Regions from separate parts of the Homo sapiens genome. Here all the other regions are linked to region 3. Evidence: promoter capture Hi-C in human tissues and cell types (Jung and others, 2019). All regions are on one chromosome and are shown on one strand. The core of a region is centred on a gene start or on the middle of the fragment in contact, and the rest is flanking DNA. Distances in the headings are between cores, read along the strand shown.

What was found. The method cuts DNA at HindIII sites, captures the fragments that hold promoters and counts their contacts. A contact is called where the count stands out against the background at its distance.
Region 1: a fragment that was not itself captured here is called in contact with the fragment with the promoter of RNF222 in region 3 in 1 of the 25 tissues and cell types used here (lymphoblastoid cells).
Region 2: a contact is called between a fragment that was not itself captured here and the fragment with the promoter of RNF222 in region 3, in 1 of the 25 tissues and cell types used here (aorta).

What each region holds. Positions count from the first base shown.
Region 1 is chr17:8,562,521-8,565,507 of GRCh38, reverse strand. The region is part of intron 7 of MYH10 (myosin heavy chain 10); the gene reads left to right. Among named protein-coding and RNA genes, the nearest start is that of MYH10, 67 kb to the left of the region's middle. The HindIII fragment of the contact is 5,307 bases long and covers 1-2,987 here.
Region 2 is chr17:8,611,204-8,613,903 of GRCh38, reverse strand. All of the region lies in intron 2 of MYH10 (myosin heavy chain 10), which reads left to right. Among named protein-coding and RNA genes, the nearest start is that of MYH10, 18 kb to the left of the region's middle. The HindIII fragment of the contact is 6,260 bases long and covers 1-2,700 here.
Region 3 is chr17:8,396,462-8,399,264 of GRCh38, reverse strand. RNF222 (ring finger protein 222) reads left to right here and starts at 1,438. Exons shown (of 3, transcript NM_001146684.3): 1 at 1,438-1,570. The HindIII fragment of the contact is 8,302 bases long and covers 1-2,803 here.

The DNA of each region.
Region 1 (2,987 bases), core at 322-2,821, 170 kb before region 3:
ACGTATTTTTTTTAGTAATAGTTTATTGCTATCTACTGTTATCATAAGGTGTTACCTACACAGTACTAAAACAAGTAGTTGATCTCAGTAGCTCCATTAAAAATAATTAGGTCCATTGATTAAATAATGTTCAGTTAAAATTCCCCTTTAATATTTATCTATTGGTGTTGGTTCTTGGGGTTTGAAAGAAACTGTTGTAGACTCATTTTTAAATTCAATTCTGTGTAATTTTGATGTTTGATTTGTTATTTAGTTCTTTTAATTATTAAGCACCTATTATTTGCCAGCCACTGTGCAGCTTAATTGATATCTCCAAATGGATGTCAATAGATTCTTGAAGTTTAACATATTCCAAATGAAAGTTTTTCCTTTCCTTTCAAAATTTGTTCCTTTATGTCTTACATCAATAGATGGTATTATGAAATCACCCAGTTGGTTAAACTTAAAATAAAAGCAATAGCAAAACCTAGAAAGACAAAATACCTAGGAATCAGCCTTTTTCTCATGGCCCACGTCCAGGCCAACAGTGAATCCTGTTGGTTAAACATCTAGAAGGTGTTTCAGATCTGTCCACATTTCTTCTCCTAACTAGCTAGTTAGTCTAAAACCATATCTGAGGATATTTCTTCTATTATTCTCTATCACAGTATCCTGTTTATTTCCCTCATGGCACCTATCACAAGCTGTAACTAATTACTTTGTGTATTTATTATCTTTCCTAGTAGAATGTCTAAGATCTTTGTCAGTAGGGACTTTGTATCTTTGGTTCCTAGCATAGTGCCCCACAGGTATATTTATGGATTTTATGGAATTCATTTACTGAAAATGTGGCAGACACTACAAAGTGCCATACACTCTTCCAGGCCCTGGGAATATACCAGTGGTCAAAACTAAGGTTCCCTAGCCCTGTAGAGCACACCTTCATATTGGTGTTAACTTTAATATGTTTTCAACGGCATGTCATGATGTTGTTGAGCTCGGGGAAGGTAGTGCATATGCTAGATCCTCTGAGAATATGCATGCCCCCATTTTAGAAGCAAGGGTAGAGAACATGAGGGAGGCAGTTGCTCCGTGGGCAGGCCAGGCCTTGGGTTGAGATCAATGTCATACCAAGAGTAGTACGATGTTAAAAAATGAGTTGTGTATACAGTGAAATTTCATGCAGTCATATTTATAAGCTACATGCTTACAGTGAAAATATTTGAGGCTATAAACTCCATAAGCTTTAGAATCCATTTGGTTCCATTTCTTTGATCTGATATAGACGACTAATTTCCTGAAGAATATCTTTTCTTTCAAAGATACTAGCATATGGTTTATATTAAAGGGATTCTTTATTTAGGAGAGCATTACCCTTAAGAAAATAATCGTTCACAGTTAGTCCAGTTCTCTGTTTATGGAGAAGTAAAATGCGTTCCAGATGGAGGAGATTTATGTAAAAAGAATCTCTCATAATGAAACTTTAAAAACAGGGACTTCAATTTCAAAATGATTGTTTGGATCAGCAGGTACATCTTCCCTCACAGAGTTTTAGTTAGAATCACTTTCTCTATTTCCACAAATCCTTCTTTTCTTTCCTTTTATTTTCTTTCTCTCTCTCTTTTTTTTTTTTTTTTCCAAGTTGACTTAAGCCAGGCTGGCAATTTCCAACTATTATGTACCTCTTGGTAGATAAGTATCCTCCAGCAGTTAAAGCTAGGTAAGGGCTCTAGGCATCCTCCTTACAGTTTGGCGACCAGGTTATAATGAAAGCACGTCCGGATTCTGCACCCTCATATCTATTTATCAAAAGGCAGTTGCTGAAAACAGTTTTGTAAGTTGCATGCAGCCCAGCTCTGTTTAATTTCTCTAACCAAACGTTTACCTGAAAGATTTACTGAGGCAAATGTGACAGTATCAGTGACAGAATATGGTCTGCACCAGGCAACCAGCATCTTCCAGATCACTGGCTGCACACAGCCATTTAGTATCAAGCTCTAGGAGCACCCCCAACAATACAGCCTCCTGGACTTGCTGGAGTCTCAACACTTGTTCCCTTGACCCCGGATTGGGGAGGGTCTATATATATCTTTCTTTGTTTTTATTTATGTATTTATCTTTTTTTAAGGCTCTATTTGAAGTTAATATATATCTCTTTCTAATCAGTCCATGGCTTAATGCCACTCATGTTACCCTAGTGATTTCTAATATCCATTATACTAAGTAATGAGGCCACTTAGTGCATGTGAAAACTCATTTTACTAACAACAAAGCTTCTGGTTTGGTTTGGAGATTAAGATAGCTAAAGCATTTAAGGTGGCCATCTGGCCTTTGGATTAAGTGCTAGCTCATTACTCCTAGAATGGATTTTCTCATTTAGGGCAAATAGCTAACACACATGCATAGCACCCTATCTGTGCTGATGTGTTTTAATGCATACTGCAGATCATGTAATAACTTTAGATGCCAAATTAAGAAGGGGGAAAATATGTTCAGAATATGAAACAAACCTGCATTGCCCCTAAATTAAGTTGCTAACTAATAACTAATCTAGTTTTAGTTACTATAGATACATTATAATCACCCCAGAAAAGATTCTAGAAATCGATGTCAATTCAGAACAAACAAAATTTTTGAAACTAATTAAGATAATTTTCATTTTATTTTCTTCAGGGTATGAAAATATCAAATATCCGGGTTTCCCTATTGCACATTTTGAGTGAAATCCTTAACAAGTTATATTTGATTATATATGAGAGAATTCTAGTTGTCTTTGCTGTTGAGAGCTCTCACAGTACACGTGTAATTTCACTTGTTTCTGGATTGGTATACAATAAGCGTTATCAAAATGTGTAGCTGTAATTAATACACAAGGTACTTGTCACGTTTTGGGGGTTTTCCATGCTTTTGTTTTTACTGGTGAAGTTCCGATTGAATATTCTAAGTACCATAATCTGACCTTTATGCAAATCAATTATGGAGTGGGCATTTTCGGCACAGATTTCTTC
Region 2 (2,700 bases), core at 78-2,577, 210 kb before region 3:
TTTTTTTTTGGATTAGTGTTTGTGTGGTTAATTGCTTTCTTAACTTACTTTCAGCTTTTCTGTGCCTGTGCCTTTAAAATATGTCTCTCATAAACTGCTTATGGTGGTTATTTTTGTCCCAAATCTGACAATATTTTTCAGCTGGAATATTTAGTTTATGTACATGTGATGTAATGACTGTTACATTTTAGCTTAAATCTGTCCTCTGATTCATTGCTTTCTTTTTATCCTACCCGCTCTATGTTTATTTTTTAATCTTTTTGTCCGTTGGTTATAATTTTTATTATTCTGTCTTTTCACCTCGTGTTAGCTGTCCATTTTTGCTATTTGCTTAGCTATTCTTTTAGTGGTTACATATTCCAACATGGATCCTTGACCTGTTAGACATGTGGAGCTCTTATTCTTTTGTAGATCATGATAGGTAGGGCCTGAGAGCACCTGAACAAATTTATTTCCTCTTCCTTCCTAATTTATGTGCTTTTGTTGTTTAATTCTCTCTATATTTTAAAACCCACAAGACACATATTACATTTTAATACTGTCGATATTCATTTAGTTTTATCCATTACTCTTTTTTTTCCACATCTTTTAGCTTCCGTTCTTTTAGAAAGGGCCCCTTTTATCTGAAGTATCTACTCGTCCTTTATTTTTGAAGTTTTTTTGGTTTTTGCTGGATTTGGAATTCAGAGCCGGCGGTTGTTTTCTTTTAACATTGTGAAAATGCCATTGCATCGGGTTCTGCCTTTCGTCTTTTTCTGTTGAGAATTCAGCTTGTAGTTTGATTGTTGTTCCCTTGAAGGTCATCGGTTTTCCTTTTCCCACCCCGGCCACTGGCTGTCTCTAAAATTTTCTCTGTCTTTGGATTTCAACACTTTTACTGTGATGGGCTTAGGTAAAGTTTTATTTTGTATATAGTGGGTCCTCCTTGTCTTCAAGGGATACATTCTAAGATCCCCAGTGGATGCCTGAAACCACAAATGGTACTGAACCATATATATATGATGTTTTTTCCTATACATACATACCTATGATAATTTTTTTTTTTTTTTGAGACAGAACAGAGTCTCCCTCTGTAGCCCAGGCTGGAGTGCAACGGTGCAATCTCGGCTCACTGCAACCTCCACCTGCCAGTTCAAGCAATTCCACTGCCTCAGCCTCTTGAGTAGCGGGGATTACAGGCGTGCGCCACCACGCCTGGCTAATTTTGGTATTTTTAGTAGAGACGGGGTTTCACCGTGTTGGTCAGGCTGGTTTTGAACTCCTGACCTCGTGATCTGCCCCCTCCTTGGCCTCCCAAAGTGCTGCGATTACAGGTGTGAGCCACCGCACCTGGCCATACCTATGATAAAATTTAATTTACAATTTAGGCGTGGTGGGAGATTAACAACAATAACTATTAAAATAGAGCAATTAAAACAATATACTTAATAAAAGTTATGTAAGTGGTTTCTCTCCCTCTTTCAGAATATCTTATTGTACTCTTCTTGTGATGATTTGATGAATTTCTTTTTCCTAGTTCACAAATTCACAGATAGAAGATTGATTCTTCCCATAGATCCTAGCAGCCTCAGCATATGATTTTATCGTTATTAAGTTGAAAACTTACCATATCACTTAAAGGAAGCACTTTGTGGCTTCTCTTTGGCATATCAGAATTGCCAGCATCACTACTCTTGTGCTTGGGGCTATTCTTAAGTAAAATAAAGGTGACTTGAACACAGTTGATCTGAGATCTGAGAGGGCTACCAAGTGATTAATAGCTGTACAGCATGATGATGCTGGACGAAGGGATAATTCACGGTCTGTGCACGATGGAGCGGAATTGTGCCAGATTTCATCACACTACTCAGAATAGTGCACAATTTAAAATGTATGAACTGTTTATTTCTGGAGTTTTTCAACAAATATTTTTGGACCACAGTTGATTGTGGACAACAAACTGCAGAAAGTGAAACCACAGATAAGGGGCACTACTGCATTCAGCTTGGAGATTGTAGTGGTTTTGACTCTGTGGCTTGATGGCTTTTGTTGGTCCGGGAAAATTCTTAGCCATTATCTCTTCAGATACTGCTTCTGCCTCATTCTCTTTTTTCTCCTTCTTGGACTCACATACTTCACATGCTCCAGATCGTTTCACCTCGTCCCATCTGGGTCTCACATTCCTCTACATTTTTATCCTTGTTTTTCCCCCATGGATCACTCTGGCTGTTTGCCTCTGATTAAAATGCCGTGTAACTAATTGTTTCTTCAGCTGTATCTAGCTTGCTGTTTAACACATGAATTCTTAATTGTAGTTACTGGTTTTCTTTTTTTGTTTTGTTTTGTTTTGTTTTGTTTTTCAGTTTTAGAATTTTCATTTGGGTTTTTCCTTTAATAGTTTCCAGTTCTCTGTCAGAATTCTCAGTCACGTCTTTAATTACTTGAACATATTGTAACCCAGGGCAATAATACAAGTCAATAAAAATAGACACACAGAGGTTCCAGATATTATCTTGGATTTCAGCCACAACTTGTTGCCTCATATGCCCAGTTATTGTGTACAAGGAATTGTGGAAATAGTTTGAGACTCTGGCTGGCATTAAGCTTATTCTAGAGTTTTGCTTTGGGCAGGCAGGCTTAGGGAAACTAGGACATGTAGTCCATGCAGGAGTTGACTTCTGTTCCAACTGGGCTTCACGCTGTGTGAGGGCTGGTCTGTTT
Region 3 (2,803 bases), core at 189-2,688:
TTTCATTTGCTAATCTAGGACCACCTGGAACTCCCAGGGAAAGAACAAGAGAGACTGTGACGACGGCTTGCACTCACGGATCTCTGTCCATGGTGAAGTGGCCGAGTGCACTGGCCTGACTGTCCTCCCCACCAGCTTCAAGGTGTCCATTAAGCCAGGGCCATGACTGATCGGACAGAAGAGGGGTCATCCTGTGTCATCCTATGGGGTCACACACATGCTGGGCTGTGCCTTGGACCCAGTAACTTACTTTTTCAGAAGAAAACTGGTTTCTTGGGGACCTCCTGAGAGGACTGGGAGGGAATCCTCCAAAATGATTTCCAGTTCCCCGAACTTCATTCCTCCATTATTCTTGATGACTTTTTCTTTTTCTTTGAGACAGTCTCACTCTGTCATCCAGGCTGGAGTGCAGTGGTGCAATCTTGGCTCACTCACTGCAACCTCCACCTTCTGGATTCAAGCAATTCTTGTGCCTCAGCCTCCCGAGTAGCTGAGACTACAGGCTTGCACCACCTTGCCCAGCTAATTTTTGTATTTTTAGTAGCAACAGGGTTTCACCATGTTGGCAAGGCTGGTCTCGAACTCCTGGCCTCAAGCAGTCTGCCCGCCTCAACCTCCCAAAGTGCTGAGATTACAGGCATGAGCCACCATACCCAGTGGATGACTTTTTCTCTAATCACAAAAGAAACATACATTCAGGGTGAAAATGCAAACATCACAGAAATATAAAACTTAGAAAGTCTCTCCAGAGATAACTGCTATTAACAGTCTGATGTGTTTTCTTCCAGCTTTTCCTCTATGAATATGATCATGTATTATTATCTTCATAAATAGAATTGTATTACACAGGCTGTTCTGAAAGTTGCTTCCATTTATCATGATGCCGGGGACTTCTTTCCATATCTGTGTGCATTCCTGCTTCACTGGTCTTACTCGCCTCGTTCTTTATGCCAGTGGTGCTGGGTCTTTGGAGTTCTAAGCGCCTTTGGGTGTTCCATGAATGACAAATGCACACAGGCAGATCCCACAAATATATGACTCTGAGTGTCATAGACTTCCCGAGGCTGATCTACTACTGACCCCTTCACCCTGTGCATGGTGTGAGGATAGGGGTGTGGGGGGAAGATGGGGATCACAGAAATGGGTCCAGGAGGGTGGGAAGGACAGTGTGGGTGACTTTCCTATTGATAGGGAGACCCATGCCTGGGGAGCCTCAGTCAAAGGGGTCCTGGGTCACTGCCTCCACTGTGAGACCCTCTGACTCTCCTGAGCACCCACCCCTGGGCTCCTCCTCAAGCTGGGGGTTCCTCTCCTGGCATCCTCAGCAAGATCACCTGACTCCAGCAGCTGCCAACCCCCTGGGCAACGCCAAAGCCTCCTGGCCTCAAACGGGTTGGGCGACATTCACTTCCTCGCGCTGTCCTCCCGACCTGCTCTGTCATTAGGAATTGCCTCGGCGGTGGCGGTCACACTAACAGCAACAGGAGGAGATCGTGCTGCTGCTCAGCACCTCGGGGTGGCTCAGATCTGCTGGAGGCCCCAGGAGGGAAGGTGGATGCTGCTCTCTCCGGTCCCAGCTAAAGTGAGTCTAGGGGCCTGGATGGGCGTGGGGAAGGAGCTTGGCAATGTTGGAAGGTTGCCAACATTGGAAGGATGCAGGAGAATGAGAGAGAGAGAAATTGAGAGAGAGAGAGAAAGAGATACCTGTGGGTGAGCAACTAGTCACAGCTAAAGCTATAGGACCTTGCACTGGGGCTCCAGGAGGGAATCCCAGGTGCCTGGAAGTATCATTCTGTCCCACTGGCTCCTGTGCTGAGGTGGGGATGGGGGGTGTTTTCTCTGGGGTGGGGACACCTGCCCCCACACTCTGTTCCGGAGATGGGCTACTGCTGTGGGGGAGGCTCAGTACTGGGGCTTCCCAAGGTCAGCTCCCTTGGGCCAGCCATTGCCTTCCCCCTGCCTCCCAGGTGGCCAGAGGGGCATCCTTGTTTAGGGTCACTCTAAACCTAAAGAGGAAGGAACTTTGGGTAGTCACTTTTCTAACAGTGCTATTTCTTCTATTCCTTTGACCAAAGTCTGAAGACAAAGTCTTAAGCTCTGAGCCTCAGGTCCCTTATCTGTAAAATGAAGATAATCCCTACGCCCCAGCCTTGTTGTCAGGATCAGAAGAGGAAGGGATGCAAAATGCCAAGCATATAATTAGGATTCAATAAATGGTCGCTGTTGTAAATAATAATAATTATTTATTATTAGCTCAATACTGGTCCCACTTCACCTAGGAATACTTTCCAGCCCTCCTCTCCCCTCAGTTTCCTAAGGCACCAACAGGGATGCTTTGGCACTTACTGCATTCTTCTTCAACTCGTTTGTGCTCAAACTAGAGTATGTTCCTTGCATTTCTTCTGTTGCCCTCTCCCTCACCCCAGCATCCAAACAGAATCATACCATAAGAGGAACTCAAGGATGGGGAATGGAATGGGATTCAGAAAGCGAGAGAGGCAGAGGGAGGGGTCAGGGAAAGACTGAGAAAGGGAGGCAAGAAGGTGGGGAAGGAGGTAGCATCGTCCAGGTGTTGACGGCGTGGCTCTCCGGAAGCACGGGACGGGGGAAGGATTGCCCAGAGAGGCCATCGTTGGAAGCGGGAAGGACTGTCCAGAGAGGCCATCATTGGAAGGGGGAAGGATTGTCCGGAGAGGCCATCGTTGTAAGAGGGAAGGATTGCCCAGAGAGGCCATTGTTGGAAGGGAGAAGGATTGCCCAGAGAGGCCATCATTGGGGCCTCGGATGTCTTCTGCACTCCCTG